Regions from separate parts of the Homo sapiens genome. Here all the other regions are linked to region 4. Evidence: promoter capture Hi-C in 16 types of primary human blood cells and fetal thymus (Javierre and others, 2016). All regions are on one chromosome and are shown on one strand. The core of a region is centred on a gene start or on the middle of the fragment in contact, and the rest is flanking DNA. Distances in the headings are between cores, read along the strand shown.

Region 1 (3,923 bases), core at 469-2,968, 230 kb before region 4:
TGCAAATCCCATTATCTGTGAGTGCTGTGTGAATACATATGCCAAGACGAATAGTGAACACAGGAAATTGTGCTGAAAATTAATCGCCCTCAGCAATCAATGGGGATAGGCCCCACACGAGAGAAGGTCCGACTAAGGATGGAGCGCACTGCGATGAGACCTTTCTTATATGACCTAGGTGCTCCCAAGACTGCAAACTTCCACTCCTTTGTATCTTTCTTTTCAGCCTGCTAACTGAACCGTGCTAATGGATATCAGAACAGTCCTTGTGGTTTTTCCTATCAAATCTGTTAAAAGGGGAAGAAGGTTCCTGTTGTTAATTGCAGGGGATCTCCTATTCTTTGTTTTAAAGAAAGTTTAAACAAAATGCTCACCCACTCTGGGGCTTTAAAGAAAGTTCAAACAGAACAAAGTTCTCTTGCCAAGGTTTAAGGCGAATCTCCTCCGTCCAGATGGCTTCCTCAGGCAGGCCAATGTAAGAACCCAGACACTCACCCCTGCTGCCTCTTAATGCCGCGCCTTGATTGTTGCTAACGATCCCCAGCTGTCTTTCGTTGCTGGCTCCTTAACCTCTCTCTGCCGGCCACATCTGCCTGCAACTCTGAGAGGGGAAGAGGAGATGCTGACAAAAGAGGCATCCAAGAGATGCTTTGGAGGCTGCCCCCAAAGCAACGCAGATGGGGTCCCGAGTCGTGGGACTGTGCACCAGGAACTTGATTAGAAATTAATTCTCCACAATAAACTTCAGGAAAAAATGTGAATGTCATATTTCATATCAAGGAAATAAACCTGATGATGGGAAATGCCACTAACCAAGGCAAATCCACTAAGAATCCAGGAGTCTGGCCATGATACTTGGCAGGTCACTTTCCCTATTGACTAGTCTACATATTTACTGGGCAGCAGCCCGGAATGGGGTGGTGGCCATAAGAATTCCCACTGTGTTCCAGCAACATGTGTCCACTTTCTCCACGGCCTTCCCCAGCTGCCCCCTTTATTCCAGCCCATCACCCAGCAGACATACTGACTTTTGATCTGTACCAGATACAAGTGGGTCACGTCTGCATCCTGTATTAATTTAATGCTTCCCCTTTGTTTTCTGTGTGTCCTACGAGTGTCTAGCTATGTCAGCCAGTGGGTCTGAATATCCCTGCCTGCCCGGATGTCCATTCAATTCAGACATTAAAAAGTGCACCTTGTTACTATCACCCCATAGGGTGCACTACAGTCTAATAGATAAATCCACATCATCAATAGTAATCTAAGTACCCTCTCTATGCTCTGTACCCCTTCTTCCCCAAACCCTATTTCTTTTTTTTTTTTTTTTTTTTTTTTTTTTTGATGAGCAGTCAGAACACACACAGCATTTATTGGAAGTTTTCCATCTTATATGGGCACAGTTTGTGGCTCCCCAAAACAATTAGAATAGTAATATCAAAGATCACTGATCACAGATCACCATAACAGATATAATAATAATGAGAAACTGAAATGTCGCAAAAATTACCAAAATGTGACCCAGAGACAGGAAGTGAGCGCATGCTGTTGGACAAATGGCACTGATAGATTTGCTTGACACAGGGTTGCCAGAAACCTTCCATTTGTTAAAAAATGCAATATTTGCGAAGTACAATAAAGTGAAACACAGTAAAATGAGGTGTGCTGGGCATCCTGCCATTTATGCACATGCCTCTTTAGGTAGAAAATAATCCTGTAACAGTTGAGGCTGTGGTTGCCTTTCTGAGACTCTTGTCTACAGAAATGGTCAACTGGTGGCCAGCTGGCCAAAGGGCTAATCTAGCCCACAGACATGTTTAGTTGGGGCTACATAGAGCTTTTTACAAATTTGAGTCAATATTTAGAAAATAAAAGTCTGGATTTTGGGATTCCCTTACAAAAACTGGAAAATTTGGCCACACTGGGTCATATTCCCACATAGTCGTGGTGGTTGGGGTTCAGTAGCAGTAGCTGCTGCCCCTTAAGACAGGTCCCCATGGTCCCCACTCAGTTGCTTCCTTATTTATCTTACAAGCCTGGCAAGGAATTTGAGTTGAACTGATCTAGAAGATTGGTGCTAAGAACCAGCTCAGTGGCTTAGCTGTCCTGGGGTCTGCAGGAGAAGGCTTCTTTGTTAGGCCCAGGCAGGAAGTCTGGGCATGGATTGAGGTTTTTTTTTTTTTTTTTTTTGACCTTTTAAATATTTATTTATTTTTTATTTTATTTTATTTTATTTTATTTATTTATTTATTTTTAATTGATCATTCTTGGGTGTTTCTCGCAGAGGGGGAGTTGGCAGGGTCATAGGACAATAGTGGAGGGAAGGTCAGCAGATAAACAAGTGAACAAAGGTCTCTGGTTTTCCTAGGCAGAGGACCCTGCGGCCTTCCGCAGGGTTTGTGTCCCTGGGTACTTGAGATTAGGGAGTGGTGATGATTCTTAACGAGCATGCTGCCTTCAAGCATCTGTTTAACAAAGCACATCTTGCACCGCCCTTAATCCATTTACCCTGAGTGGACACAGCACATGTTTCAGAGAGCACAGGGTTGGGGGTAAGGTCACCGATCAACAGGATCCCAAGGCAGAAGAATTTTTCTTGGTACAGAACAGAATGAAAAGTCTCCCATGTCTACTTCTTTCTACACAGACGCGGCAACCATCCGATTTCCCAATCTTTTCCCCACCTTTCCCCCCTTTCTATTCCACAAAACCGCCATTGTCATCCCTGCCCGTTCTCAATGAGCTGTTGGGTACACCTCCCAGACGGGGTGGTGGCCGGGCAGAGGGGCTCCTCACTTCCCAGTAGGGGCGGCTGGGCAGAGGCGCCCCTCACCTCCCGGACGGGGCGGCTGGCCGGGCGGGGGGCTAACCCCCCCCCCATCTCCCTCCCCGACGGGGCGGCTGGCCGGGCAGAGGGGCTCCTCACTTCCCAGTAGGGACGGCCGGGCAGAGGCGCCCCTCACCTCCCGGATGGGGCGGCTGGCCGGGCGGGGGGCTGACCCCCCCCCACCTCCCTCCCGGACGGGGCGGCTGGCCGGGCGGGGGGCTGACACCCCCACCTCCCTCCCCGACGGGGCGGCTGGCTGGGCAGAGGGGCTCCTCACTTCCCAGTAGGGGCGGCCGGGCAGAGGCGCCCCTCACCTCCCGGACGGGGCGGCTGGCCGGGCGGGGGGCTGACCCCCCCACCTCCCTCCCAGACGGGGTGGCTGCCGGGCGGAGATGCTCCTCACTTCCCAGACGGGGTGGCTGCAGGGCGTAGAGGCTCCTCACTTCTCAGATGGGGCGGCCGGGCAGAGATGCTCCTCACCTCCCAGACGGGGTCCCGGCCGGGCGCTCTCACATCCCAGACGGGGCGGCGGGGCAGAGGCGCTCCCCACATCTCAGGCGATGGGCGGCGGGGCAGAGACGCTCCTCACTTCCTAGATGGGAAGGTGGCCGGGAAGAGGCGCTCCTCACTTCCTAGATGGGATGGCGGCCGGGAAGAGGCGCTCCTCACTTCCTAGACGGGATGGCGGCCGGGAAGAGGCGCTCCTCACTTTCCAGACTGGGCAGCCAGGCAGAGGGGCTCCTCACGTCCCAGACGATGGGCGGCCAGGCAGAGACGCTCCTCACTTCCCAGACGGGGTGGCGGCCGGGCAGAGGCTGCAATCTCGGCACTTTGGGAGGCCAAGGCAGGCGGCTGGGAGGTGGAGGTTGTAGCGAGCCGAGATCACGCCACTGCACTCCAGCCTGGGCACCATTGAGCACTGAGTGAACCAGACTCCGTCTGCAATCCCGGCACCTCGGGAGGCCGAGGCTGGCGGATCACTCGCGGTTAGGAGCTGGAGACCAGCCCGGCCAACACAGCGAAACCCCGTCTCCACCAAAAAAGTAAGAAAACCAGTCAGGCGTGGTGGCGCGCTACAGGCACTCGGCAGGCTGAGGCA
Region 2 (4,407 bases), core at 844-3,343, 170 kb before region 4:
TCAAGCTGAAGCTACTAGACCAGCGGTTCTCAAAGTATGGTATTTGGACCAGCAGTGTCATTATTACCAGGGAACTTATTTGAAATGAAAATTTTCGGGCCCAGCCCCAGGCCTACAGAATCAGAGTATGTGGGAGTGGGGCCCAGCAATCTGTTTTAACAAGCGCTCCAAGTGATTCTGATGCAAGATTTAGTTTGAGAACCACTGTGCTAGGCTATGTCTGAAGCTTCTCGTGCCTCAAATTCTCCAGCAGCAAAGTAGGAATGTTAAAGTCTTGTTATTTTCCTCTATCCCTCAGGTCACAAAGACATAGCCTAGGCTGGCTGATACACACTTAAGGTGGTTCACCTAACTTAAGTCTACTAGTGTTTAAGGTAAAATACATGTTCTTTTTTTCTTTGAATTTGGATCATCTGCATTTAGAAGAAAAGATTTGTTCTGTTCTAAATTAAATGCAGTTGACCCTTGAGCAATACAGGTTTGAATTGCATGGGTCCATTTATATTGGATTTTCTTCAGCCTCTGCCACCCCTGAGACAGCAAGACCAACCCCTCTTTTTCCTTCTCCTCCTCAGCCTACTGAACATGAAGGTGATGAGGATGAAGACCTTTATGGTGATCCACTTCACTTACTGAATAGTAAACATATTTTCTCTTCCTTGTGATTTTCTTAATAACATTCTTTTCTTTAGCTTATCTTATTATAAGACTACAGCATATAATACATATAGCATATAAAATATGTGTTAACTGTTTATGTTATCAATAAGTCTTCCAATCAACAATAGGCTATTGGTAGTTATGTGTTTGGGGAGTCTAAAGTTATATGTAGATTCCTACTGCTTGGGAGGTCAGAGCCCCAACCCCCATGTTGTTCAAAGGTCAACTATACATATTCATAAGGATTTTATTCAGCTTCATCTATGGAATGATCCATAGAGTCCTTAGGATAGTAGAGATAAGATATATAACTTGTGATACAGATTAGATCCCACCTGGGCCAGAGCCAAGATACATGTGTCTCTGGCGTGTGGAATTTGGCGATATCCAAATCCCATCCAAGTATCTATTTGCCCTCATAATTTACATAAGGACCAAGGAGAATCCTGGAGAAAATCTCAAGCCATGCCCCTGGCTGAGAATTAGATATTTGAGACATATCTGGGAGACTTGGTGGAGGCAGGGAAGGAATGAAAATAAAGAAGAATAAAGAGAGGAAGAGAAACCAGTGCACGTGCAAACACACACACCCGAAAATGAAGTTAACTATAAAGGAAAGTAATGTGAAAAACCAGCCATGCCAGCCACAATGCCCTTCAGACCCTGAGCTCCTGAGCAGAGGTGAGTCCTGACTATGGCATGGCAGCTGGCACATCAATCATTTTCCCCAGCTCTCCTAGAGGCACACAAGCACCCCAGGGATGCACGGTGGCTGGGTTCACTGGCCTTATGCATGGAAAGTGCAGGCTCATTAAGTTCTATAATGTTCCATAGGTCCAAGCAATTCTCCGGAGGCACAACATTCTTCCCACTTTGCAAGAGAATGCCAAACTCCTGAGGAGAAGCAGGAGGACTGCCAGCTCTGGAGTCAGATAAGGAACTGGCAGTACAGCAGAAGCCAGGAATTTTGTAGTCAGGGGCACCATCAGAGCTTTTATTAGGCACCCTCTGTGGACTTATTCAACACTTGGGGAAGGAAGTCTGTGCAAAGTCCTGGAGTTCCCAAGTGAGCTAGCTGGAGCTTGGAGGCAGCAAGATTCTGGTAATTATGTTAATGTAAATTTATTGTCCCCATAAGATGGTAAGGTTGAAGGATGTGTGTGATACCTTTTGTGCCCTGTATCAGATTCTCTTTGCCCCACCTTTCACTTATTCCAAAAACCACTGTAGCGACTGGTTTTGCACAGACTCCAATCAACCTCACATAAGTGTAACCCAAAGAACCATTCCTTAAACAAGCCTCTTGCCTCCCACTCCAGGGCTTCCCTGTTGAGTCTGGGGAGAGGGGTTTTTAACACACTTGGGGTGGAATTTTGACCAATGGGGTTAGGAACTGATTAATAAATGTTTCCATCTTCTCCCCCCTGCAACCTCCAAATGAAATGGAAAACCATTTCAATCAGTTTCTCAAGCAGACCCAGGGTGATCAAGTACCAGTGGCCCACAGGGTGATTGACTCTATATTACACATCTGCTTTGTGTCTCCCTCCTTCTCTAGTGCCTCCTGGAATAATTGCACTTATAAGTTTGGTTCAGACTCTGCTTTTTTAGGAACCCAGGCTGAGGCAGGAATATTTAGGTCTCATGTGACTTAGAAGCAATAATACATTTGCTGTCAATATAGGACTTGTATATCTTTCAAGGCAAATAAATGGTATTATTTCCTATTTTATGTGATTTACTATATAGTATAATAATTTCATTATATGCCTCTAGCAAAGATATAATAATCCTCATCATTTCCCTAGATTCCTAATCTTGCATTTTTTTTTCCTTTTTTTTTTTTTTTTTTTTTTTGAGATGAAGTCCCCCTCTGTCGCCTAGGCTGGAGTGCAGTGGCGTGATCTTGGCTCACTGCAACCTCCGTTTCCCGGGTTCAAGCGATTCTCCTTCCTCAGCCTCTCGAGTTGCTGTGACTACAGGCGCACATCACCACACCCGGCTGATTTTTGTATTTTTTTAGTAGAGATGGGTTTTCACCATATTGGCCAGGCTGGTCTTGAACTCCTGACCTTGTGATCTGCCTGCCTTGGCCTCCCAAAGTGCTGAAATTACAGGTGTGACCCACTGCACCCGGCCGATAGTTAATTCTTTATTCTGTTTTCTGTTTCAGGTTTAAATACCAAACTCTAAAGATCATTCTGACACAGTTTGCAGGCAGAACTCAGGGAGAATATTTTATTAAGGGGAAGGAAATAAACACAGCTAATATTTTCAAAACAATCTATATGCCCAAACCCTAATTATTTAAATTTTTTTTATTTTTATAGATTCAGGGTGTACATGTGCAGGTTTGTTACATGGATAGATTGAATAATGGTGAGGTTTGGGCTTCTAGTGTGCCCATCTCCCACATAGTGAATGCTGTACCCAATAGGTAATTTTTCAGCCCTCATCTGCCTCCCAAACTCCTCCTTCTTGGAGTCTCTAGTGTCTGTTATTTCCCTTTGCATGTCCATGTGCACCCATTGCTTATCCCCCTCTTATAAGTGAGAAGATACAGTATTTGATTTCCTGTTTCTGAGTTATTTCACTTAGGATAATGGCCTCCAGCTCCATCCATGTTGCTGCAAAAGACATGATTTCATTCTTATGGCTGCATAGTATTCATATATATATATATATATATATATATATATATCTCACATTTTCTTTATTCAATCATCCATTGATGGACATTTGGGTTGATTCCATGACTTTGCTATTGTGAATAATGCTGTGATAAATATACGAGTGAAAGTGTCTTTTTGATATCCAATTTCTTTTCCATTGGATAGATACCTAGTACTAGGATTGCTAGGTCAAATGGCAGTTCTATTTTTAATTATTTGAGAAATCTCCATGCTGTTTTCCATAAAGGTTGTATTAATTTACTTCCATCAACAGTAGATAAGCATTCCCTTTTCACTGCATCCTCGCCAACATCTGTTGTTTTTTGACTTTTTAATGATAGCCATCTGACTGGTATGAGATGCTATCTCATTGTGGTTTTAATTTGTATTTCTCTGATTAGTGATGTTGAGCATTTTTTCATGTTTGTTAGCTGCTTGTACATCTTTTGAGAAATGTCTATTCACATCCTTTATCCACTTTTTAATGAAGTTATTTTTTTCTTGTTGAACTGCTTGCATTACTTATAGATTATGAATATCAGTCCTTTGTTGGACATAGAGTTTGCAAACATCTTCTCCCATTCTGTAGGTTGTCTGTTTACTCTGTTGGTTGTTTCTTTTGCTGTGTAGAAGCTTTTTGGTTTAATTAAGCCCTATTTGTCATTTTTGTTTTTGTTGTATTTGCTTTTGAGGTCTTAATCATAAATTCTTTGCCTAGACCCATGTCAAGAAAAGTTGTGCCTAGGTTTTCTTCTAGAATTTTTATAGTTTCAGGTCTTATATTTAAGCCTTTAATCCATCTTGAGTTAATTTTTGCGTATGTTAAGAGACAGGGGTCCAGTTTCATTCTTCTGCATATGGCTATCCAATTCTCCCAGCACCATTATTGAATAGGGAGTCCTTTCCCCATTATATATTTTTGCTGACTTTGTTGAAGTTCAGTTAGTTTTAAGTATGTAGCTTTATTTCTCGGTTCTTTATTCTGTTCTATTGATCTATATGTCTATTTTTGTACGTACCATGTTGTTTTGGTTACTATAGCCTTGTAGTATAATTTGAAGTCAAGTGATGTGAT
Region 3 (3,851 bases), core at 194-2,693, 240 kb after region 4:
ATCTAGATGGTAGAATCTAGGTTCATTGTAAATGGGTATTCACTGTAAAATTTGTTCAGCTTTGCTGTGTGTTCAAAATTATTTCCTAACAAAATGTTGGGACCAGGCACAGTGGCTCATGCCTGTAATCCCAGCACTTTGGGAGGCCCAGGTAAGAGGATAGCTTGAGCCCAGGAGTTCAAGACCAGCCTGCACAACATGGCAAGACCACATCTCTACAAAAAACACAAAAATTAGGAGGGCATGGTGGCATGCGCCTACAGTCCCAGCTACTCCAGTGGTTGAGGAAGGAGGATTACATGAGCCCAGGAGGTCAAGGTTGCAGTGAGCTATGATTGTATCACTGCAGTCTAGGTAACAGAGAGAGACCCTGTCTCAAAAAAAAAAAAAAATTGTTTTGGGGGAAACTATGTATGAAGAAACCCAATAGGTGAAAGGTGATTACTTGATTTGACTTAAAATTCAACTTCCTGTAATTTTTATAAATTGACCATTTTCTTTCTTTCTCCCCTTGTCCTTCTCTCTTCCTCACCCATCTACAACATACAACAGAAATAACTAACTCTTCTTCTAAAAGACAGCATTTCAATATGAAAAGGTAGCTCTTGTGCCCCGTAATGCACTCAGGGATAAACATTGTCATTTCTTTCAGCCATTCTTCACATGCCATATCTCTCCTCTGGATATGGTCCAGTTATCAGCATTCCTATTAAATAGTTGTTACACTTGTTTCTATATGATGATCATGCTCCTTGAGCAAAAATTTGGAAATAAAGGGAATTGTATGTTTCGTCTCTGTCATTTCCATTTGTGAACATTATGCCTTTTCTCCAAATCAGTGGCACTGCAAATTTTTAATTTTTTTTCTATGAAGATAACTTTTAAAGAGCTCTTTTTGTTGGCCTTACCATTTCCTCCAAGTTTTAGCTTATTGGGGGTGACTCTCTGTTGGGAACAAGACCCCCAAAATCTGGCCATAAACTGGCCCCAAAACTGGCCATCAACTAAATCTCTGCAGCACTGTGACGTGTTCACGATGGCCATAAAGCCCACGCTGGAAGGTTGTGGGCTTACCGGAATGAGGGCAAGGAACACCTGGCCCGCCCAGGGCGGAAAACTGCTTAAAGGCATTCTTAAGCCACAAACAATAGCATGAGAGATTTGTGCCTTAAGGACATGCTCCTGATGCAGTTAACTAGCCCAACCTATTCCTTTAATTCGGCCCATCCCTTCATTTCCCGTAAGGGATACTTTTAGTTAATTTAATAGCTATAGAAACAATGCTAATGACTGGCTTGCTGTTAATAAATACGTGGGTAAATCTCTGTTCGGGGCTCTCAGCTCATTTCTGTGTGTGTGTCTTTAATTCCTCTAGCGCCGCTGGGTTAGGGTCTGCCCGACCGAGCTGGTCTCGGCACTCTCAGGCAGCCTTTGACTCGTGCGAACTTGTTTATAAAGTCCTCTTTTCAACAAAAGTCAAGTACACAACTCCTCCCAAATTCTGGTTTCTAAGGAGAGACTCCAAAGAAGTCTTTGTTAATAAATTGCTCTCTTTTCTTTTCACTATAATAGTTTGTAGTTGTAAAGTCTGGCTTTTATTTTTGCACACCTCACAAAGTGCAAGACTCAAAACTGTGGGATCGTAACTTTATTCTAAACTTATTTAAATCTACTTTCCTAAAATGTAAGTTATCTTGACTGCCTCCATGAACCCTAACCATCACTTGTTATCATGCTATTACTTCCTGACCCAAGGTCCCATTCTGCTCTCTTTTATCTCTGTCCTGTTGGTTTCAGAGGAATGATTTAAGCCTAATTTAATTCTTCTATTAATACTTCAGCTCTAACACTTCTGACTGCTCCAACTAATTATCCCATCTCCCAGATTTCCCTTACTACTAGTTTCTTCCTTCATCCTATACATATGCTCAAATGTTCTCCCATCCTATTAAAATGCTTCCTTTAACCTTCATCACTTCTGAACTATTAGGATAGCTTCCCCCCATCTCCCTGCCTCCAGTCCTGCTCTACCTGTCCCAGCATCCAACCAGTGTATGTTATCTAAAATGCATTCTAACAATGTCACTCTTCTGTTTAACACCTTTTATTGATTCCTTCTAGGCAAATTCCAAATTTCTTAGCATGGTAAACAAGGTCTTTTATGGCTAATTTCTTCTTTCCTTCTAGCTTCCTTCCCCTGCTCTCCCTGCCTTGCGCTTCAAAAAATCCAACAGTATCCAATATTTTGTAAGACTTCTGAGCCCTAAGGCTATGCCATGCTTCTATGACTTTGTTGCTGTTGTCCCTGCTGCCCGGAACACTACCCCCACCAGCACCATCACCACATTCTTTCTTCTTCACTTGGCACACATCACTCATTTTTAAGACTCAATTCATGTTTTGGAAAGTATTTCCTGACCCACCCAATTTGGATTTGTTGGTCCTCATACTTTCCTCGGTAATTTTTTGATCACCAATGCCCAGCATAATGCCTGGCATTTATTAAATGTTTGTCAAAGTAACCTAAGCTGAACATGCGCTCTCTTCTAGGATTCCCATCAGTTTCACCTCATAATCTAAATTGTTCCATATAGCTTAGAGTTTAGGTAGAAAGTGGTCGTTTTCTTTGTTACTTCATCGATGTCTGAGGGAGAAAATCAGCAAGTCACGTTGAAAGTAATTGAGATGCACTGCCATTAGCAGAGTGGGTCTCCAGCAGTCACTAGCAGTTAAAGTTTTCCGCCATCACCGTATCCTGTCTCAGTGTCAGTTTTAGGATCTGTACGGGGAAAGGCATCACTTCTTCCATTTGGCTGCACACTCTGCAGTGCATTCCCAGAACACAACCACACTTCTGTTCCTCTATCCGTTTATCCTTACTCAAATGATACCTCTCCCCTGCTAGAATGGAGACTCCTACAAAGCTGGCATGAATTCCTATACAAAAAGGCTACAAACTGGAGTTCCACCTGCTGGAACTGGAGAACCTGTATGATTGCTGTAACATACATTAACCTACTTCAGCATACAAAATGTAATATTATGAATGTGGTAGTAGTACATAAGCTTCGATTCTACTCACACAAACTGAGAATTCTAGGCTTCCATGATGGTCAGGCAGCAACACATTAAAAAGACCACACTTCAGGAGCACATATCACAAGGACGCCTAGTATCACCATCTTGATCCACATCGCTTGGTTTGCTAATTAGCATAGTGAACACCAGAGATGGGTTTTTATTTTTGGCTTCCCCAAAAGTATGATAAATGTTAAAAATGGGATCTCATGTATGCAATTAGCAAAATCTAAAATATATGGGATTTGGGCTGGGCACGGTGGTTCATGTCTGTAATCCCAGCATCTTGGGAAGCCAAGGTGGGCAGATCACTTGAGGTTAGGAGTTTCAGACCAGCCTGGTCAGCATGGTGAAACCCCGTCTGTACTAAAAATACAAAAAAATTAGCGGGGTGTGGTGGTACACGCCTATAGTCCCAGCTACTTGGGAGACTGAAGCACGAGAATCACTTGAACCTGGGAGGTGGAGGTTGCAGTGAGCCGAGATCGTGCCACTGCACTCCAACCTGGGCAACAGAGTGAGACTCCGTCTCAAAAATAAATAAATAAATAAATTTAAATACACTTCAGCTGCTTCCGAAGTGTGGTCTTTCTAATGTGTTGCTGCCTGACCACCACTGAAGCATAACAGAGGCATAGCTCGTTATATAGTGCTTCACCTTATTGCTCTTCGCAGAGTCTGTTTTTTACAAATTGAAGGTTTATGGCAACCCTGCATCAGGCAAGTCTTTTGGCGCCATTTTTCCAACAGCATGTGCTTACTTCATGTCTCTG
Region 4 (4,129 bases), core at 1,148-3,647:
AGGACCGAGTGAAGTTCAGAGGTCAGTCCCTTTTATTCCCCCTTAATGGTTTTGTGCTGGACAATACCTAAATATTACAATATGGACATGTTTTTTCCTATTATGGAGCAAGCTTCCTTTCTTTTATTTCTTCTTCCTTTTTGGTAGCTTTCATTTTAAATGATGATATCCATCATTGACTACTATAATCATAGTCAAAAGTTGGTTTGGAGGTTTTTTTTTTCCCAATCACTTTGAGACAAGAAGCAAACATGTGAAGGACTTTACATTCCAACACTCTGTGTCTGAAAATTTACTTTCCTTAAAGTTCTACCCGTGGCCTTGTCCAGCTCAGCTGGGACACCTGGAACTAATTTTAGGGTTGCCTGGCTAAGCCCCACACTGGTATTTGAAGTTTGCGTCCTCCCTAGACTCAAGCCCATTTCACCACCTCTGAAGGTGAGTGCAGGCTGATATTAATTAACAGTGAGTTGATTCACTGGCATCTTCCAGTCATTAAAGCAAATATTTGGCTTAAAATAGCCTTCTTCCCACCTCAAATATCAAACTTTTTGCCTATTCCCTTACTCTATCATGGTTGACTCACCAGCAGTTGCATGATGGTGTATGTGGCCTAAGAACAGAGTTTGATTCTAAAAGGGAAGTGAAATACTCTTTAACATCTGCAAGTGAGACTGTTTGAACAGCAGGCCAGCCTTCAGTATGACTACATTGTTTTTCTGTCCATTGTGGTGCTGACTCAGCATCAGTTAATAAACCCTCTTGAGCAGGCTGGATTTCTCTTGTTTAATTATCAGCTTGGAGCTTTCTGAGGACTCTTAGGAATTGTTCATTCAGTTTTCCACCCCCAGCAGATCTGCCTTCTAAAAGTCCTGCTTCCTCTTGGTGCTAGCGTCCCCTCTGGCATAACATGCAATCACAGGTGGGCCACGCAGCAAGCAGCGAGTGTGTGCTAATCATGTCCCCTAGTGGGAATTTAATTGTTCTGTACTGAGAGAGAGATTGCAGCAAGACTTTAGACACCATTTCCTGGCAAATAATCTTTTGCCTCTCCCCCTCTCCCCTAAAAAAAATTCTAGAAAAGTTTTCTAAAAGTGAGAAAAGAAATTTTAAAGATAAACAGACATATTTTTTAGGATTGAGTTGGGCTTTTGTTTTGCTTTGTTTCATTTCTTCCTGTAAACAAATACTCAGATGTCCATTTCATTGTATGACTAAGTTGGTATCATTAGGTTGGAACTGGGTGTGTGTATGTGGGTGTGTGTGTGGGTGGATGTGTGTGCACACGTGTATTTAAAATGTTAGAAAAGACATTGCAGGTCGAAGGAGAAATGATTTTAAAAAAACCTACCTATGGTAAGGCAAGCAGGAAAAATGGAAGACCTGGATTTCAATGATCTAAATAATAATTGAAATGGGGTGTTTGCTATAAACATTGTTTCTCTGAATTAAAGGATTCCTTGCTGAAGGCACAAGACCATTGAAGGAAGTAAAGCATCTGGTTTGTTTTGTAATGAGAAGCAGGAATGCAAGGTCCACGCTCTTAATAATAAACAAACAGGACATTGTATGCCATCATCACAGGATGTCCTTCCTTCAACAGAGGACTGACTGGGCTGGAGGAAAAGCTGGCCGGGGCTCAGAATAAGCCCCACTAATTACTGCCTCCGACCGCTTTCCACTTGCAGTGATCAGTTCAATATTCCTCTGAACTGTGAAACGACTAATGCTCTACATTTTACTTACACTCCTGGGAAGTCAGCCTGTGGGTTCTGGGAGGAGAGGAAAGGAAAACAAACAATCTGTAGAATTATAACTTTTGCCTATTTCCCTATTTACTAAATAGTTAAAAGAGGAAAGTTAGTTCTGCCAAGTTTGAACGTTAGCAGGAGAAACGGAATGTTACAACTTTTGGGGCGGGGGGCGGGGAAACGTGCGTTACATACACAACAGCTTGAGGACCAGACAGCTCCACTGTATTACACTAGCTGCAAAAACAATTTAACTTGCTCTTTTGAAGTAAGATTTGTGTCTTTTGTACCTGGGGATTTGAGCTGAGAAATCAGAAACTGTGTAGGTAAATTTTAAGTTTCCTTAATTTAAGGAACGTGCGCCCCCTAATTCTGCCGCGCCAGGAAGGAGGGCGATCTGGAGTGTTTAGAATACAATAGAGCCCAAGTAAGCGTTGAGGTTAAGTGCCTTCAAAGGGAAGTAAGAAGATTCCAAGTCAATGTTGAAATACACATGCGAAGAGAGGAAGCTCTCGGCGGCTGTGCTAGCAATCTGGGGGAAAGCCCTGGGCTCGGCCAGGTGGTGTTGGCCACGTTGGCCACGCCCCCACTTCGCGCAGCCGAGTGGCTAAGGAAATCTTAAGCAGGGAGGGGAAGCCAGACGGTTAACACAGACAAAGTGCTGCCGTGACACTCGGCCCTCCAGTGTTGCGGAGAGGCAAGAGCAGCGACCGCGGCACCTGTCCGCCCGGAGCTGGGACGCGGGCGCCCGGGCGGCCGGACGAAGCGAGGAGGGACCGCCGAGGTGCGCGTCTGTGCGGCTCAGCCTGGCGGGGGACGCGGGGAGAATGTGGACTGGGTAGAGATGAACGAGACTTTTCTCAGATGTTGGATATTTGCTTGGAAAAACGTGTGGGTACGACCTTGGTAAGGAACTTGAATTTTTTTTTTTTAATTCTGAAATTGATCTGAAAACTTTATTTTCTTTTCCTTTATTGTTATTATTATTAATTTTTTTTGGCTAATGTCGCAGTAGAAACATGCTTCTGCTTTAGTGCACTTAGTGCTGTCAAACATTTGTGAGACTTTCCTTATGAATCATTAACCCTTTCAGTTCTAGACATAATTGCCAATTCATTGAAATTTCAGTAGTGGTTCCAGCTCACACTCGTCAAACTATTCCGGGTTGGCTGAAGTTTTCTATTTTATTTTATTTTTAACATGTGTTTGGCGTCATGACTCTACATGTTGGAACTAAATAAAAATAAGCAGGTTTGCTTAAATCATAACTGAGGGAAAAACAACTTTGCATCCAACTTTTTTTTTTTTAAGAGCATCCTATTTAGAGAAGTGGAAGAATGTAAAAACCTCCTTGAAGGACTTCCACAGAATGTTATGTTTACATTTGAACAAACACACATTCTTACATGGAAATGATACCCATATTCCTCATTTTTATCAAACATGTCTATATGAGAAAACCCTTACAGAAGTTGTTTACCTTTTTTTGCCTTTGGAAAACAGTTTTTTTCTGAGTGTGAGGGAGGATTTTGGGGGAATATCCTCATCAATGTACAAGTGGAAGCAGAGCTTGTCCTCCAAGTCTTCTAAATTTGTTATAACTTTAGTTACAGTAAACTGTAGTACATCAGTGACTTCTGGGAATTCATACACTTTCAGATTTAAATGGAAAGTGCTATTTGTAGCTGAGGACTCCTAAAGGAATTCTCTCCAGGGAATTTTATTAAACGGTTTTATGTTTTGTTTTTGCCTTTTCAATTTGGTATGAGATGCTTGCAAGTCAGAAGACACTGCAGGCTGTTTTCCCCTTCACCCATTTTTCCTCCTCTTTTCCTGTGGTCCAAGTGATTTCTAAGAGGCCGTAGCTCAGTGATGCTGGCAGGATGCAACCCTTTTCAGTCTTCCATGTGAGAGGATGAAAGAGAGCTCGCAGCAGAGGGAGGAGGCAGTTGTTTTGAAAGTTGTTTTGCGTTGGGAGCTGGTGGGAAAGTTCGGTCTTCCCCATTTGGAAAAGGCAGGCTGGGTTCCGCTCCTGCACCACACGCGCTTTCCATTTTTAGCTTCATTCAGAGGCAGACAGAGCTCCTTCCTCTTCCTCTCCTTGTTTGTGACACTTTTCTGAGGCAGCTTTTCCACAGTGCCGAGGGTCTGGCGGCCATGACCCCAGGCATTCTGGGACACTGGACTGTGTGCCCAGAACATTTTTCTGCCATGAGAGGTAAAGCCAGGGATTGTTCAGAGGTGATTCTTTTTTTTTTTTTCCTTTTCCCCACAGTGAGGTTGCCACATTCTTTTTTTTTTTTTTTTTTTTAACTAAGAGTAGCATTTAAAAACCTTGCTTCTTTTCAAGGCAGTTTACTTTATACGGCTTCTTGGCT
Region 5 (3,879 bases), core at 572-3,071, 180 kb after region 4:
CTGATTGGTGCGTTTACAATCCCTGAGCTAGACACAAAGGTTCTCCACATCCCCACTAGATTAGCTAGATACAAAGTGTCGACACAAAGGTTCTCCAAGTCCCCACCAGAGTAGCTAGTTACAGAGTGTCGATTGGTGCATTCACAAACCCTGAGCTAGACACAGGGTGCTGATTGGTGTGTTTACAAACCTTGAGCTAGATACAGAGTGCTGATTGGTGTATTTACAACCCCTGAGCTAGACATAAAGGTTCTCCACGTCCCCACCAGACTCAGGAGCCCAGCTGGCTTCACCGGGGCTGCTGGTGGAGCTGCCTGCCAGTCCCGCGCCGTGCCCCGCACTCCTCAGCCCTTGGGTGGTCGATGGGACTGGGCGCCGTGGAGCAGAGGGCGGCACTCGTCAGGGAGGCTTGGCCGCACAGGAGCCCATGGAAGGGGTGGGAGGCTCAGGCATGGCGGGCTGCAGGTCCCGAGCCCTGCCCCGCGGGAAGGCAGCTAAGGCCAGGTGAGAAATCGAGTGCAGCGCCGGTGGGCCGTCACTGCTGGGGGACCCAGTACACCCTCCGCAGCCGCTGGCCCGGGTGCTAAGCCCCTCATTGCCCGGGGCCGGCAGGGCCGGCCGGCTGCTCCGAGTGCGGGGTCCGCCAAGCCCACACCCACCCGGAACTCCAGCTGGCCCGCAAGCGCCGCGCACATCCCCGGTTCCCGCTCGCGCCTCTCCCTCCACACCTCCCTGCATGCTGAGGGAGCCGGCTCCAGCCTTGGCCAGCCCAGAAAGGGGCTCCCACAGTGCAGCGGTGGGCTGAAGGGCTCAAGTGCCCCCAAAGTAGGAGCCCAGGCAGAGGAGACGCCGAGAGCGAGCAAGGGCTGTGAGGACTGCCAGCACGCTGTCACCTCTCATTAGTATAATCTGTATTGCACTGCGAAATAACTGCCTAAATGTTTCACCAAGTTTTATTATCCATGATACTCACTGCCAAGTCTACCCAAAACACTGTAGAAGGCTATAGTCCAAATTATTACAAAGTTAATTTATTCACTTAAATCAAGTAATTTCAGGAGCAATCCTTCTCCAGAAGCTTAGCAAATTTTTTACTGCTTTATATTAAAATGCAAATGCATGAACTCTAAAAATCTCACCATTATTTTTAATTACAGAAAGAACACCAAGAGACTGATTTAAAATATATAATATATATAGTAAAATGCTTGTTTGTTCCATAGTAAAACTTAATTGAATGCTCAAGCAGGTTACAAATTTGCTTTAAGCAACTTTCTCACGAAGTTGTAGATTCTTAAATGCCACACACAGAGTTTCAGGTTGGAATTATTCACCTTCCTGCAAAACGTACTACAGGCAAATAATAATAATAACAAAAATGACCTAATTAGCTCAGCTATATGTACAAAAAAAGCAAACATAAATGAGGTGGCTCCATATTTCATTGCTTTGTATGACTGTGACACATTCACTGCCATATTCCTGAAGCTAAAATTCCTATACTAATTTGCAAAGTAAACACAGTACGAAACTAGAAGCTGCAGCATTAGATTCTAGTCTATTATGCATTCTCCATCTGCTGTCCCACACTCACAATATTTAATTTTAGCAAAATCTAATTCAGTGTATCTCTACATGAATGCCTCATTAGACATCTCAAACTTTTAGCCTCCAAGATGGCCTCTCAAATAGGCTTTACTTCCCATCTCATTATCTAATATTTCATATCTCAGTATAAAGCACCACTCTCCATGCAGCTGCCCAAATCATAACCCAGGAATAATTCCTTCCTTGTTTTTAACCCATCCTCTACATCCAGCCTAACAACAGGCTCTGCCAATCTACCTCTAAAATAAGCCCCAAATTTACTGACTTTTCTCCATCTCTCCCAACATCACCCTAAATATCACCATATTCTTATACCTAAGACTATTACTAGAGCCACTTTCATTCTGGACTCCTATTCCATTCTACATTGAACAGCTCTTATATCATATTCTACATCTCATCACTCCCCTGCTTAAAAGTCCTCCAATAGCTTAAAATCCAAATTGTTTTCCTTGGCCTACAAGGCCTTAGATAATTTGGTTCTTTCTCATCTCTCCAAACTCATCTCGGGCCACACTTCCTCCTCAGTCACTACACCTAAGACATGCTTATCTTCTTTTGACTTCTCAAAACATACCTATTGTGGACTGAATGTTTACATCCCCCTATAATTCATGTTGAAATCCTAACCTCCAACATGATAGATAAAGTGGTGGGGCATTTGGGAGCTGATTAGGTCATAAGGGCGGAGTCCTCATAAATGGAATTACTGTCCTTAGAAAACAGACCCCAGAGAAAGCTCTGTTTTAGTCTGTGAGGACACAAAGAGAAGATAGCTATGAATCAGGAAGAGGGCCCTCATCAGACACTGAATTGCAGGCACCTTCCTCTTGGACTCTCTAGCCGCTAGATTGTGAAAATAATCAGACGTCTTCCCTAATCACCTTAATGTAAACAGGTCCAATTCTAATTGGTCAATATTCTCAGCACTTTATTGCTTTCAAAATAGTATAAACGAAGCTTTGTGTACTGGCAATATCATAACCAATGAGGTTCATCCAAGACATGATAATTGCTAATGGCAAACAGCATAAAACCAACTGCCAAAAAAATGCTTTGCATCCCACAAGAACTAGATATAGACAAGTGCCATTTTTGCTACACAGAATGCTTTAAAAAAAAAAATGGTGGGAAATAGAGAAGGGTATCCTTGAAGAAAAACCTGTGTTTATCTACACTTTTAAAAGCTATGCATAGGATTAGTTCTCTGGAAGTGCCTAGAATATTCCCACTTTAGTGCCTTTGCTCTTGCTGTTCCCTCTGCCTAGGAAGTTTTTAATCCCAGATAAATATGCATGATCTCCTAAACTGCTTCAGGTCTTCATTTAATGTCATCCAATCAGTGAGGACTTCCCTGACCATCCTATTTAAAATAACAACGCCCTTTCCCAACAAAGTCCTTTCTCATCTTCCTTTGCTTTTTCTCTCATGGCACTCATCATCATAGGACACATAATACATATCACCACTGGTATAGACCACTGGTCTGATATGACCACTGGTATAGACTCCCACTTGGTCCTTTTCAATTCCCATTTGCTTCTTTCTAATTCATTAACCATACTGCAGCCAAAGGGATGTCTTAAAAAGGGAAATCTGATTCTGTTATAGGTCTGCTTAAAATGTTTCACTGGTCTCCTACCATCCCACTCTCTGTTCCTCCTGCCAGGGATTAAGTTCAATATTGTTAAAATGGCCTACAAAGCCCTGAACAGGCAGCGTCTCTGCCTGACTTCCAGTTTGACCTCCTTACCACTCTCGATCTTGATCACCACATTCTAGTCAGTTCTCAGAACTTAGTAGGCTCTTTGCTTCTGAACCTAGCCCAGATCATTCCCTCAGCCTGAAACAACTTTCATCACAACCACACCACTCTCTCTAGCCCTTCCTCCTTCCTCTACAACTCCAGTTATAAATGTAACAATTACGTAAAAGTGATCTGTTTAATGCCTGGCTCCTCTGCTACCCTACACATTCAGAGGGAAGGGATCGTGCCTGTCATATTTACCCCAGCGTCCCCTGTGCTTAGCACAGAGGCTGGCACATAGTAGGTTCTTATACTGGCTAGCTAATCCACACTACTACGGTCCGGGCATGATTCTCCTATAATGAAGACTGAATTTGCAGCCATGAAGATCAAAGACAATGAATGTTGTTTCCAAGACTTGATTAAACATGAGAGTATAAAATCTGTGAGAAATATTTGTGGCAATGGAAGAAAGAAAAATTTCCAAAAACTCACACAGACAAGGAATGAAAAATAATAGATGA
Region 6 (4,028 bases), core at 1,229-3,728, 260 kb before region 4:
ATGTGTATACCTATGTAACAAACCTGCACGTTTTGCACACGTATCCCAGAATTTAAAGTATAATAAAAAAGAAAAAAATAGAACTACTTATATGATTCAGCAATTTTATTACTGGATATATACCCAAAGGAAATGAAATCTGTAAGTCAAAGAGATAGCTGCACTCCCATGTTCACTGTAGCACTATGTATGGAATCAACCAATGAGTCCATCAATAGATGAATGGATAATGAAAATATGGTATATTTACAAAATGGAATACTATTCAGCCTCAAAAGAGAAGGAAATTTTGTCATTTGCAAAAACACGTATGAACTTGGAGGATATTAGTTCAAGTGAAATAAGCCAGGCACAGGAAGACAAATACCACAGCATCTCACTTACGTGTGGAATCTAAAAATGTTGGATTCAGACACAAAGAGGAGAATGGTGATTAGTAGGAGCTAGCAGAAAGGGGAGGGGATTGGGGAGATGTCAGTGAAAAGATACAAAATTTCAGTTAGGAGGAATAAGTTCAAGAGATCCATTGTATAATATGGTGACTATAGTTAATAAAAATATATACTTGAAAGTTGCTGAGTAGATTTTAAGCATTTTCACAGCAGGCCAAATTTTTATGAGACTCTTAAACGTGCATATTATGGCCAGTGGAGCTTAGCTCTTCACGAATGTGAGGTGCTATCATTAGGAATAAATTTTTGTTTATAAATCCCCTTACCTTTGTTCCCCAAAACACTCATTTACTCCCACCAGGAACAAGCACTCAAACCACAACCAAGTATGATATTCAGAAGTTTTACTAGCTGAAGAAAGTCAATCAGTCCAAGAAATGTGTATGACATCTTACTTCTGTCTTCTCCTGGGTTCAGATCCTTAACTTGCTAATTCACTATAATGGGAGTTAGCAAAGCTTGGCCCTCAGGACAAATCCAGACCACAGTCTGCTTTCTTTTTTTTTTTTTTTTTTTTTTTTTGAGACGGAGTCTCGCTCTGTCGCCCAGGCTGGAGAGCAGTGGCGTGATCTCAGCTCACTGCAAGCTCCGCCTCCCGGGTTCACGCCATGCTGCTGCCTCACCCTCCCGAGTAGCTGGGACTACAGGCGCCCGCCACCACGCCCGGCTAATTTTTTGTATTTTTAGTAGAGACGGGGTTTCACCGTGTTAGCCAGGATGGTTTCGATCTCCTGACCTTGTTATCCGCCCGCCTCGGTCTCCCAAAGTGCTGGGATTACAGGCATGAGCCACCGCACACAGTCTGCTTTCATAGAGCCTACAAGCTAAAGAACGGCTTCCCATTTTTAAGTAATTGAAAAAAATCAGATAAAGATTTTCATAATATATAAATTAAATAAAATTATGTTATATAAAATAATATATAAATTATTTAAAATTCAAATCATTGGCCTTAAATAGTTTTCTTGGAAGAGAGCCACACTTATTCATTTACTTCTTGTCTATAGCTGTTTTTGTGCTACAACGGTCAAGTGTTCTGACATAAACCACATGACCTGCAAAACCAGAATAGTTCTCTCTGATGCTTTACAGAAAAAGTTTGCCAGCACCTGCACTGCATAAAGTCTGGCTGTTCCCATCCTACAGTCTGAGAGCTTCATATGTCATAATGTACTCAGTATAATTCAAATGCAATATCATTAAAAAGGACAAAAGCAAACATTTATATTGGATTTTGTGGGACAAACCTTATTCGAAATGTTCCACCATGTTGTCCATACGTAATATTCTAATGGATGGGCGTTGTCCATATGTAATATTCTAATGGTTCGGTAACACCAATACTTTAAACTTTCAAGCAACATCTCCAAATTTCCTCTTGCATCTAGAAGAGACAAAAATTCTTGTTCAGAGAACACATGCCTTGATTTGGGGCTAAGAAACATGCTGACTGAGCCTTGGTGCTCCTTACACTTAGATTTAACCTGAAGGTAAAAGTCTGATAGAAATAAGTAACCAGAAAAGCACAAACATTGAAGCACTCTCAGAAAAACTCAGCCCATTACATGTTTCTTTTAGATTATTAGAAATGATTCAGCTGCTCCAGTAACAATTTCTTTTGCCATGGGAAAGAAATCTACTCCACCTAACTGCAAATGTTTTTAAACTAAATTTCCTTCTCAAAGAGTTACCACATCTACTGTTAATAACATAACTGATTGTAAACTGTTTTTAAATCTTTTCAGATTTATTAGAGGTGGGGGGTAGGGAAGTTAGTCTAGAATGTAGAAAAGCTGCATTCTAGCTAAAGAGGTGAGTCTAACCTAGCCTTCTAGTTAGTCTAGAATGTAAAATGGCAGTCACAATGACAAGTTTCAATGGATCTCAATAGAGACTTAAGTGCCTTGCAAAACAAGACTGTCATTTCCAAAGTAGCATCCTGAAATGTTTAAATGTTTATGATAGAAACCACTCGAATCATCCCCAGCGAGTTTCTCAGAAGGGGCAGCTGGAGGAGGGAAGGGCAGCTGGAGGAGGGGAAGGGGCCGCAGGAGGAGGGGAAAGGGAGGCAGCTGGAGGAGGGGAAGGGGCAGCTGGAGGAGGGGAAGGGGCAGCTGGAGGAGGGGAAGGGGCAGCTGGAGGAGGGGAAGGGCAGCTGGAGGAGGGGAAGGGGCAGCGGGAGGAGGAGAAGGGGCAGCTGGAGGAGGGGAAGGGGCAGCCGGAGGAGGAGAAGGGGCAGGTGGATGAGGGGAAGGGGGAAGCTGGAGGAGGGGAAGGGGAGGCTGGAGGAGGGGAAGGGGGGCAGCTGGAGGAGGAGAAGGGGGACAGTGGAAGGAGGGGAAGGGGGGCAGCTGGAGGAGGGGAGGGGGCAGCTGGAGGAGGGGAAGGGGCAGCTGGAGGAGGGGAAGGGGGCAGCTGGAGGAGGAGAAGGGACAGCTGGAGGAGGGGAAGGGGCAGCTGGAGGAGGGGAAGGGCCAACCAACTGGAGGAGTTCATTATTAGATTATGTTTTAAAGGTAATAAATCCACTACCTTTTCTCAGATATTTAAAAGAACTACCATAGGAAATGGTGAAATAGGGAAGGACATTAGACTCAAGAGGGAATAATTTATTACAGTCTCAGAATTCTCTAACTCATCAGCCACAAAGTATATCTGAGGAGGCTCCATTCATTATGCAGGATCCATGTGATACATGACGAGTAAAAGGCGGGCTTCAACTCCCAAGGGGCCTGCATGCTTGTTAGTGAGACATGGCAGAACTTCACTCTAATAGGCATTTCTAAATGAAACTACTATGGAAAACATAACAGAAAAAGAAATCATACCCTGAAACCATATTATGAGTAGGAGGAGACTCAAACGTACTTTTCCTAGGGGGTTCTCAGTTGCTTTTGCTAATGAGGCAAACAGCTCTGCTCCATAGATTTTAGCTTCTGTGGATTGGAGAATGAAGCAGAAATTACTGTGTTTTTTCTCAGCTGCAGAAAAGGTAACTGAACTAGACAAGTTCTGCACCTAAGGCAGTGACTGAGCCTACAGACTCCGAGCACCAGGAAAATTGCATCAGTAGGGAAGAATCAGACAGCCATGGTGTGGATGGAGGACGAGATGAGCTGGGAGACACAAGAAACAGCACAGTGGGAGAGAGAGTGAGACTGACAAACCTTCTGTGAAAATACATCCACAGAACTGGCCAAGGACTTCTCATAGAGGGTTTTAACATCCACATTTTGTTGTGGCCAAGTTTCCAAAAGGAAAGTTTAAGGAAGAGAGTGATTTTTTTAAAATGTGTGACTAGATGTCTCAAGGGAACACCTCTTCCCAGTGTAACTATGCTCTCTATGTACCAACCACAGACTTGTCCAGATGAGCTCTCGGCCTCTCACCTAGTTTTCCTCATTGTCAAGAGCACCCACTTAAGTGAGAGTTTCCCAGGAATTATGGTCTGTGGTCTTGAAAAAAGGCCCAAGGAACACCCCCGATAGAAACAGACAATTTGGGCCCATTAGGCTCTTCTGGCTCAGGAGAACATGGCACGCTGGCCATTCCACGCAGTCTCTACCTTCTCCCTTC
Region 7 (3,786 bases), core at 333-2,832, 200 kb after region 4:
GCTCCACTCTCCGTACCACCGTCAGGCAACCGTTCCAAAGCACATGGGGCTCACCTTGTTTGTTCCCTTTCTAAGGTTCAGTGCTAAAAACAGCTCTATTTCATATTTTTGGTCCTGTTTTCTAATTGTTGATGACTAGAGGAAAACTCAAATACCAGTTACTCTGTCACGGCTAAAAGTATATGTTAACATCAATAAATATCTGATGAATAAATGACTAAACAAGCCTTACTTCATAAAGTTCTAAGTTTGCATGACCCTCCATGATTTCCACCACCTGGTATTCCTATCTTTCTATAATCCCTTCCCCCTTGCATGTGGGCAGAACCTGTGACTTGCTTCTAACTCAAAGAATGCGGCAAAGGTGATGGGATGTTACCCCAGTGATTAAGTCATGTTATACAGTAAGATTCTGTCTTACTACCAGACTACCTCTAGACTTTCTTTGTTGCCCTGAAGCAAGTAGGCATGTTGGGAAAGTCCACATGACAAGAACTTCACATGGTCTTTAGGTGGTCAATGCAGCTTATTACTGACAGCCAACAAGAAGATAGGCCCCTCAATCCTACAACCATAGGATATGAATTCTGCCAGCAAACTAAGTCTACAAGTGGATTCTCCCTCAGTTGAACTTCCAGTTAAGAACGCAGCCCAGCCAACACCCTGATGGCACCCTCATAACCTAGGCAGAAGATCCAGGTATAAGCTATGCCCAGAATCCTGACCCACAGAAACTGTCAGAGAACAAATGTTGTTTTAAGCTGGTGGTAATTTGTCAGACAATAGTAGATAACTAATACAACATACTATTGATAGATACTATAAAACAGCTACCAACATTTATAGCTGGGAAGTGCAGGCAGTGATAGAAGCAAAGGAGAGACCATGAAATACACTCAAGAACTTCAGGAAAGAAAAGCTACCACAGACCTATGTCAACAACACATAACAGGAGGAGGGACATGATAAATTCCTTCAAAGAAACACAGTGGCTCTTGGCCTAGCAAGAAAAAACTTGTCCATCAGAAAAGAAGCTTGCTCAGTCACACAAAAATACTCAAGGAACAGTCAGGACCAATGCAGGGCTTTTTCAAGCATGGTAAGCAAAACAGGATTTGCCTGCTGTGCTTGAAAGACAGTTGGTTCAAAAACCTAACTTGTGTTATCTCTGGCATTCAGCAGAGTTCAGCACATAAGCACTTATCTGAATGTTGATCTTATTTTACTTAACAAATGTGAGCTCTTACCCTTAATCATTGCTGTCAACATTCAAAATTAAAATGTCTCCTCTCCTCAAAACCAAAACGCACCAAATCAGCACCATGTTACCAAGAGGAAGAAAGAAAAACACCAAGGTTTTATAGGATTTGTTTACTCTATTAAACTTTATTTAGGATTTGCAACAGAACTGGGCATTTTAAAGACCCCACTATTTTCACCTGATGTCATTAAACTTTTGAATCACATTAACTCCTTTTTTAAAAATTCCATGCACTGTTCTCAACATGGACAAAGAGAGAAAAAATTTTTTTAATTTTAAAAAATCTACATACTGTAAGTAATCTTTTAACTGTAATGTCGCTTTGCAAGCAGCATGCCTATAGAATTAATGAAAAAAAATACAGAGAGAAAACGCAAAGGTGGCAAAATGTTAAAAAGCAGCAAATCCAAGTGAAAGGTATTATGAGTATTCACTGGACCACAATTAACTTTTTTTTTTTTTTTTAGATGGAGTCTACTCTGTTGCCCAGGCTGGAGTGCAGTGGCATGGTCTCGGCTCACTGCAACCTCCGCCCCCCAGGTTCAAGCGATTCTCCTGCCTCAGCCTCCCGAGAAGCTGAGATTACAGGCACCTACCACCATGCCCAGCTAATTTTTGTATTTTTAGTAGAGACAGGGTTTCACCATGTTGGCCAGGCAGGCCTCAAACTCCTGACCTCAAGAGATCCACCTGCCTCACCTCCCAAGGTGCTGGGATTACAGGCATGAGTCACTGCCCTGCCGCACAATTAATTTTTCTAATATATGTTTAAATTTTTTAATATAAAAAACTGGGGACACAGAAATGAGATAATTTTCTTGGTAGTCTCACCAAGTTTAGGAATCAAAATGTCCTTAAAAACCAATGAGAAAAGCTTGAAGAAGGTACCATTTTCATTGTTTTGGTAAACAAAACATACATCCAAATCTATATGTTATAAAGCAATTAACACTCTACAATTATATTTATCTCCCAGAAAATAGAAAATACAAAAATGCCTATAAAAATATTAATTTTCTGATTCACCCTTAAAAGCTTTTGGTTCTACAGACAATTACCATTAACTTTTAGATCTTCATTGTTCTCTAACTCTTGTTAATCAACATGTGGTCTGGTGGAACAATATCATAGCATTACCTATGCACTTGTAAGAAATGCAGAATCTCTCTGAATCCAACCCAATGCTGCAGAATCAGAAACTGCACTTTAGTAAGAGACACAGGTAACTTGAAAGCACATTAAAGTTTGAAAATCACTATTGTAGACATTAAAATGCATTTATTATAAACATTATAAACCTATACAAATCACAAACATCAAAGTCAGTTAAAAATTAGAGGAAATATGTCTGTTTGAAAACTGTTTAACAGTGTTTTTTTGAAGAGTTTAGTCTGAACTACTGATCCAAATGTGTGTGTGTGTGTGGCAGAGGCAACAGGATCTCTTAGAAGCTTTGATATTGCACAAAAAAATCTAATCAAAATCTATTACAACCTTTGAAAACAATTGTAAAAGAAATTCTAAGAAGTCTGGTTAAAACATCAACATTATCTGGCATACTCAATACAACACCACAGAAGATAAATGCAGAGACACCAAGTGACACAAAATTGTTACTCAATACATCCAATCTGTTGAATGTATAAACTATTTTCTACAAACTTTAAAAACCACTTCCTCACTAAAAGCATTGATTTTCTGCCTGAAAATTAACACTTACCCAGTTTCATTATAATCAATCAAAAATCTATAAGGCAGTACAATAGAGGCAGGCCTACATCAATCAGTACAAGCTATCAATTAAACATGTGAAGACAACCTTTGAAGTAACCTAGGTCCTGATGCTCCCCTAAATGAATGGAACTTAGTATATACAGAAAAAAAAAAAATCTGGGCAATAACTTTCCTCTAACAGGCCAGGATAAGAATAAGTAAGAACAGCTGAAAGAAACACACTGATAGCTTGAACAAACTCTAAATGTTCTCTGTAATTTCCTTATTAACTGTAAGATTCTTTTTTCTATTTGCTAATAAACTTTTCTACTGGGAAGAAAATGTATGACCTACTAAGGATCCCAAAGAGTTTATATTTATGTGGATTATATTACTGATATTTACACTAGAAATTAGAGCTGAAACATTTAAAAAAAACATTAATTCACTTAAAAATACCAAGAATAAAACCACTATACATTAACACTAAAATTGTATTTCCACAAAAATCAACTATGTTTCCCAGAACAACAACAACAAAAAAAACAGGAACACTGGCACTAATTTGTATTTTTGCAAATAACTTTAATGCCTTAATAGACAACCAATGGATTACCTTAAACTTGCTTCTATGTTCAATATTCTACAATATGTTGTTTTGGTTGAAGTATATAAAGAAAATTCAGGCTCACAAAGATATGTAGTTTAAAAGAAGTATTTTAATAGCCTTTTTGGCTTTGTGGATATTCTTCAATACTACACCAAATTTAACAAGTTCAGTTTATTATATTATTATTATTTTGAGACAGAGT

What was found. Contacts are between HindIII fragments. The CHiCAGO score rates a contact against its expected background, and 5 or more counts as called.
Region 1: a contact is called between a fragment that was not itself captured here and the fragment with the promoter of PRDM1 in region 4, in 5 of 17 cell types (activated CD4 T cells, M0 macrophages, monocytes and 2 more). The highest score is 7.7, in activated CD4 T cells.
Region 2: a contact is called between a fragment that was not itself captured here and the fragment with the promoter of PRDM1 in region 4, in 1 of 17 cell types (M0 macrophages). The highest score is 5.1, in M0 macrophages.
Region 3: a fragment that was not itself captured here is called in contact with the fragment with the promoter of PRDM1 in region 4 in 2 of 17 cell types (neutrophils and activated CD4 T cells); the score reaches 6.3 in neutrophils.
Region 5: a contact is called between a fragment that was not itself captured here and the fragment with the promoter of PRDM1 in region 4, in 1 of 17 cell types (activated CD4 T cells). The highest score is 6.1, in activated CD4 T cells.
Region 6: a fragment that was not itself captured here is called in contact with the fragment with the promoter of PRDM1 in region 4 in 2 of 17 cell types (M2 macrophages and M0 macrophages); the score reaches 9.9 in M2 macrophages.
Region 7: a contact is called between a fragment that was not itself captured here and the fragment with the promoter of PRDM1 in region 4, in 1 of 17 cell types (activated CD4 T cells). The highest score is 5.9, in activated CD4 T cells.

Annotation. Positions count from the first base shown.
Region 1 is chr6:105,850,872-105,854,794 of GRCh38, forward strand. The region is part of intron 2 of LOC105377923 (a long non-coding RNA gene); the gene reads right to left. Among named protein-coding and RNA genes, the nearest start is that of LINC02836, 220 kb to the left of the region's middle. RefSeq lists a silencer at 130-330 and an enhancer at 2,159-2,660. The HindIII fragment of the contact is 8,272 bases long and covers 1-3,923 here.
Region 2 is chr6:105,909,911-105,914,317 of GRCh38, forward strand. No RefSeq gene overlaps it. Among named protein-coding and RNA genes, the nearest start is that of PRDM1, 170 kb to the right of the region's middle. The HindIII fragment of the contact is 3,739 bases long and covers 225-3,963 here.
Region 3 is chr6:106,327,319-106,331,169 of GRCh38, forward strand. No RefSeq gene overlaps it. Among named protein-coding and RNA genes, the nearest start is that of ATG5, 3.5 kb to the left of the region's middle. The HindIII fragment of the contact is 3,241 bases long and covers 1-3,064 here.
Region 4 is chr6:106,083,939-106,088,067 of GRCh38, forward strand. PRDM1 (PR/SET domain 1) reads left to right here and starts at 2,398. Exons shown (of 7, transcript NM_001198.4): 1 at 2,398-2,657. The coding sequence starts at 2,616. RefSeq lists enhancers at 779-848, 2,026-2,745. The HindIII fragment of the contact is 5,820 bases long and covers 111-4,129 here.
Region 5 is chr6:106,269,068-106,272,946 of GRCh38, forward strand. The region is part of intron 5 of ATG5 (autophagy related 5); the gene reads right to left. Among named protein-coding and RNA genes, the nearest start is that of ATG5, 55 kb to the right of the region's middle. The HindIII fragment of the contact is 1,490 bases long and covers 1,077-2,566 here.
Region 6 is chr6:105,828,358-105,832,385 of GRCh38, forward strand. LOC105377923 (a long non-coding RNA gene) reads right to left here. Exons shown (of 3, transcript XR_001744275.2): 3 at 1,408-1,836. Among named protein-coding and RNA genes, the nearest start is that of LINC02836, 200 kb to the left of the region's middle. The HindIII fragment of the contact is 3,141 bases long and covers 909-4,028 here.
Region 7 is chr6:106,286,265-106,290,050 of GRCh38, forward strand. All of the region lies in intron 4 of ATG5 (autophagy related 5), which reads right to left. Among named protein-coding and RNA genes, the nearest start is that of ATG5, 38 kb to the right of the region's middle. The HindIII fragment of the contact is 1,101 bases long and covers 1,033-2,133 here.